Regions from separate parts of the Homo sapiens genome. Here region 1 is linked to region 2. Evidence: promoter capture Hi-C in 16 types of primary human blood cells and fetal thymus (Javierre and others, 2016). All regions are on one chromosome and are shown on one strand. The core of a region is centred on a gene start or on the middle of the fragment in contact, and the rest is flanking DNA. Distances in the headings are between cores, read along the strand shown.

Region 1 (2,700 bases), core at 90-2,589, 800 kb before region 2:
TGTTGCAGCACTATTCACAATAGCTAAGATTTGGAAGCAACCTAAGTATTCATCAACAGATGAATGGATAAAGAAAATGTGTTACAGATACACAATGGAGTACTATTCAGCCATAAAAAGAATGAGATCCTGTCATTTGCAATAACATGGGTGGAACTGGAGATTATTATGTTCAGTGAAATAAGTCAGGTATAGAAAGACAAATATCACATGTTCTTATTTATTTGTGGGATCTAAAAATCGAAACCATTGAACTCATGGACATAGAGAGTAGAAGGATGGTTACCAGAGGCTGGGAAGGGCAGTGGGGTGTTGAGGAGGAGGTGGTCATGGTGAATGTGTACGAAAAAATAGTTAGAAATTGTCTGGGTGCAGTGGCTCTCTCCTGTAATCCCCAGCACTTTGGGAGGCCGACATGGGCAGATCACCTGAGGTCAGGATTTTGAGACCAGCCTGGCCAACATGGTGAAACCCTGTCTCTACTAAAAATACAAACAATTAGCTGGGCGTGGTGGCATGTGCCTGTAGTCCTAGCTACTCAGGAGGCTGAGGCAAGATAATTGCTTGAATCTGGGAGGCGGAGGTTGCAGTGAGCTGAGAAGCCACCACTGTACTCCAGCCTGGGCAACAGAGAGAGACTCCATCTCAAAAACAAAAAAAAGTTGGAAATAACAAATAAGACCTACTATTTGATAGCATGATAGGGTGACTAGAGTCAATAATAACTTAATTGTACACTTAAAAAATATCTAAAAGAGTGTAATTGCATTGTTTGTAACACAAAGGATAAATGCTGCAGGGATGGATACCCCATTCTCCATAATGTGATTATTTCACATTGCATGCCTGTATGAAAACATCTCAATGTATCCCATAAATATATACGCCTACTATGTACCTACAAAAATTAAAAATAAGGCCAGGTACGGTGGCTCACACCTATAAACCCAGCACTTTGGGAGGCCGAGGTGGGCGGATCATGAGGTCAGGAGTTCGAGACCAGCCTAGCCAATATGGTGAAACCCTGTCCCTACTAAAAATACAAAAATTAGCCGGGCATGGTGGTGCGTGCCTGTAGTCCCAGCTACTCAGGAGGCTGAGGCAGAAGAATAGCTTGAACCTGGAAGGCAGAGGATGCAGTGAGCCAAGATTGTGCCACTGCACTCCATCCTGGGTGACAAAGCGAGACTCCGTCTCAAATAAATAAATAAATAAATAAATAAATATATAAAAATTCAAAAAATAAAATAAAAGTTGAAATTATAACAAAAAGATTCCTAAATGTAACCAACTTTATCTGATGAATTAAATAAAGAAACAGACAAGTATTGTATATACAACACTGTATACTCAAGTCTATAGGTGATTTAAGGATTTTCAAGGTTAATTTTGACTGTATTTGAGTTTCACTCATGCAGTGAATTTGCAACCCCAAGAAAGACGGGACTTCAACATCTAGCACAGAGCCCTGGGACATAAAATCCAGATAACCTGTTTCGAATCCTAATTCTTGGAGTGTTCAAGGCCAGTTTTATTTTCCATCAAATGGGGAAACTAAGAATAATGATGGTTAATTTTATGTGACAACTTGGCTGGGCTACAGTGCCCAGATATTTGGTCAAACATTATTCTAGATGTTTCTGTGAAGGTATTTTTTTGGATGAGACCAACATTTAAAACATTGTACTTTAAATAGGGCACATTACTCTCTATAATGTGAGTGGTCCTCAACCAATCAGTTGAAGACCTTAGTTTTTAAAACAAAGACTGTCCTCCATAGAGCAAGAAAGAATTCTTCTCACAATCTGCTTTTGGACTCAAACTGTAACTCCTTCTGAATCTCCAGCCTGCCGGCCTACCCCTGATGGGGTTTTGGACTTGCCATGCCTCCACAATCTAATGAGCCAATTTCTTGAAATCTCTCTCTCTCTCTCTCTCCATGTACATATATGCATACACACACACATACACCATACACACATATCCTGTTGGTTCTGTTTCTCTGGAGAATACTAATTAATACACTGTTCAACAGGATTATGGTGAAGATTAAATAAGACAATGCATTTAATCTTCATCCTATCTGAAATATGAAATAGTGCTATATAAATAGTTGCTATTGTCTACTAAAGGTCTACTCTTGTCTTTATAGCCTTGATTCCAGAGGCTATGTTTCTTTTAGGCCAGATCTACTCCCCAGCTGACTATGAAACCAAGGCATTCATATACTTTCTAGAAATATGTCTTCCTTCACCTCTTCTCAATCCCCAAACATGTTATAGAAAGAAAAATGAGTTTAAATTCTGTAATCACTACCAGGTATTCAATACTATTATGGCCCAATATTAGCACCCTATTTTCCTGATAACTGACCTGCTTGAATACCTGCATTGAGCCACCTTCTGAATTAAGTTGGACCTCCAAGTTGTTTATGAGTTTATCCATATCTGGAAAAGAGAAAAGGAAAAGACAACTTTCAGAATAAAATCTAACCCACTATATGCATAAATATGCCATTAATGTTATGTGTGTTCTATGACCTTTATCTTTCAGTGCTTACCAGATACTGATAAGTCATTGAAACCTTCTGATTTATTTTACTCATCAAGATGGACCTAACTTTTCCCCAATAATATTAGCTGCTCCCCTCCACCAAACTGCATGCAGGTAATCTGTTTCTTCCTATTTCTCCAACATGCT
Region 2 (2,700 bases), core at 122-2,621:
TCTTCACACAACAGCAGACACAAAGGGTTTCAGAAACGTCAGATATGAAGAAATCCTCCATCCTTCTTCAACATTTTACTGGGTATTTCAACTTCAAAAGAACAGCTTATTTCTATAAGTGCTGTACAAGATCATAGATTATGATGGAACGACTTCATTTTAGAACGTTAGCAAAACTGTTATACTAAATGTCAATGACAGGAAACAAAGAAAAAAATTTGTTCAATTATATTTTTAAACATATTGTTATTCTCAACAAACGGAATTTTAAAACGAATACAATTTTCCATTATCAAAAGCAAACACTCTATTTCGCAGTTGAACAATGATCACTGATCACAAATATCAAATACAGTGTCCCCCGCCCCCAATCGACATCATTTTCAACTTAGGACCCTGGCATCTACTCCTTGGGGTACCTGTGACTCTCTTTTACACCCCCAAGGGTCTGCCTCAGATCTACTTAAGGGGCGGAATAACCCCTAGCACCTGAATTGAGGATAGCCTCAACCTCTGCATCATCGTCCGAATCCCAGTCATAATTACAAGGCCAGTCTTTAGAGCATCGGTTACGAACCCTTGCCACAAAATGCATGACTTTCAGTTTGCTCGATTCCACGTGTGCTCGGGGCCCCCAGAAGAACTCATACTCCACCGGACTGCTACGGGGCACCGGTTTATAAATCAGGTACCCTCTGCGCACAAACTCTTCTGTGACGATCTTCTTCGGATCTCCAAAGATGCTGTGCTGACGTCCAGGCTGCATTCCTAACTTCCCCAGCACTTTCCAGACCAGAGCTTCCTTGGCGCTGTTGCCCATGATGAAGATGAGCGCTAATATAGACATCAGGAGACTTTTCTTGGTGCCCTGAAAATTGCTCCGGGGCACTGAAGGCTTTTGTGCTTGGGCAGTGCTCGAGGCTTCTTCAGGGGTGGTAGAGGCCTCCTCTGGAGTGCTCGGGTCTTCCTCGGGGCCGCTCAGGTCGTCTTCGGGGGTGCTCGCTACCACAGAGGCGGCCATAGGGGTCTCGGAGGCCTCTGAGGCCTGGATTTTGCGATTGTTGCGGTTCTCTTCTGCGGCTCTCGCATTACGGCGGCGCCGACTCTTTCGTCCCCGAGGCATGTCTCCTGCTAGAGGCTCAAAGCTTACAGCAGTCCTAGGGAAGGATGCTTGTAGCCTCTTCAGGAAGCAACAGCTTTATACCGTAAGAAGCTGCTGCCGCTGAAGCTACCAATGTCAATAGAGTCTTTGTAGCAATAAACAAGCCGTTCTCAGCTACAAAGGGTAGTTCCCACGCCAGCTGACTTGCGCGAGCAGCCGCCGCCAGCACTTGCCGCAGCTGCAAGCCCGCGAGAAAGCTCAGCAAAATTGGCCCCGCCTCTCCTGCCACGCACACTCCTAGCACCAAAGAGGAAGTAGGCTGGTCCTCCACAGGGACTTCCGCTAGCAGATAGGAAAAGGGGCAGGCAGCGACAGGGGTGGGACAAGGGCAGAAATGACAGCTAGAGATTGGAGGGGCCTGGAGTTTGCAGAAGAGAAAAAAATAGCTTAAAGTTTCTGTATTTTCAGCCTACTACAAACATTCCAAGATTGGCTCGACGGTCTAGGGAAGGAGTGCGTCGGCTCCATTCCCACTGACGACGGGCTGTGTGTGTGTTGGGGGTTGGGAGGCCAGGGGTGGCGGGAGGGTGTATTCTTGGAAGGAGTCAGCTGTCTCCAGCCTTCCTTTCCTGTCTTGGCTTACACAGCGCGTTCATTCACTCGCCCTGTTTTCAGAAGGCATTTGTGTGTATACTAATCAATTTGTGGTCCCATGTAGGACCCGGATAATATTGTTATGGCAGATGTGCTGGATGATGTGAGGAGATGGGACTGCAGAAACAAGCAGGGTGAAAGAGGTGCAGAGCCTTTAAAATGTGGTAGATATATGCACGATATATATACTGCCCTGCTTTTATACATACATACATACATACCTATATCGTGCATATATCTACCACATTATGTTTATATACAGTGCATATATCTACCACACATATATGTATGTATGTATGTATGAAAGCAGGGCAGTGACAGGATCAGAGGAATTGCATTTGTGCAGCCTCTCAGAAAAGCAAACTGTTTCCTGGCAGACCACATAGGAAGCAATTGGAATAAGAAGCACTGGGAACTAAAGTATGCCTTAAGGCTGTTGCCATGGGGATGGAGAGGCAGAAAGACATTTTAAAGGTGACCGTTGAAGGGCTTTGCAGACAGAATGGATGAAGTGGGGAATGTGGAGGGGATGATGGAGTTCAGATTGGCTCCAAGGTTTCTAGGCTCCAGTCTTCCTGGACTCCTGATTTATTTTGCTTCTTTCAGAGCATACTCTGAACTTTATCCACTGCTTGCTTTTGCTCACTGTTTGCTCTGCCTGACCTGTCTTCTCAGCCTTCTCCAACTATCTAAATTCCATTTGACTGCTCACAGACCTGTTTCTCCCTGAAGCTTGTCTTGATCTGCCCAAAAGGGTAATGAGTCCATTTTTACTCCATTGAGGAAAGCCCTATAACTAGCACTCTATATCTTTCTTATGTCATTCAAGGTATTAGTTTAAGCAAGTCACTTCTCTCTAAGCCTGTTTTCCCATCTATAAAGTGGGGCTAAAGTACAGCCCTCATAGGGTTGTGAGAATTAAATGAGATAAAAAATGAAAAGCA

The links. The method cuts DNA at HindIII sites, captures the fragments that hold promoters and counts their contacts. A CHiCAGO score of 5 or more calls a contact.
Region 1: a contact is called between a fragment that was not itself captured here and the fragment with the promoter of MAGEH1 in region 2, in 1 of 17 cell types (endothelial precursors). The highest score is 6.8, in endothelial precursors.

What each region holds. Positions count from the first base shown.
Region 1 is chrX:56,249,978-56,252,677 of GRCh38, reverse strand. KLF8 (KLF transcription factor 8) reads right to left here. Exons shown (of 6, transcript NM_007250.5): 2 at 2,374-2,447. Among named protein-coding and RNA genes, the nearest start is that of KLF8, 19 kb to the right of the region's middle. The HindIII fragment of the contact is 3,724 bases long and covers 1-2,700 here.
Region 2 is chrX:55,450,798-55,453,497 of GRCh38, reverse strand. It overlaps MAGEH1 (MAGE family member H1), which reads right to left and starts at 1,371. Exons shown (of 1, transcript NM_014061.5): 1 at 1-1,371. The coding sequence starts at 1,123. The coding sequence ends at 464. It overlaps MIR4536-2 (microRNA 4536-2), which reads right to left and starts at 2,003; the gene lies at 1,916-2,003. It overlaps MIR4536-1 (microRNA 4536-1), which reads left to right and starts at 1,916; the gene lies at 1,916-2,003. RefSeq lists enhancers at 909-958, 1,109-1,158. The HindIII fragment of the contact is 1,343 bases long and covers 1,148-2,490 here.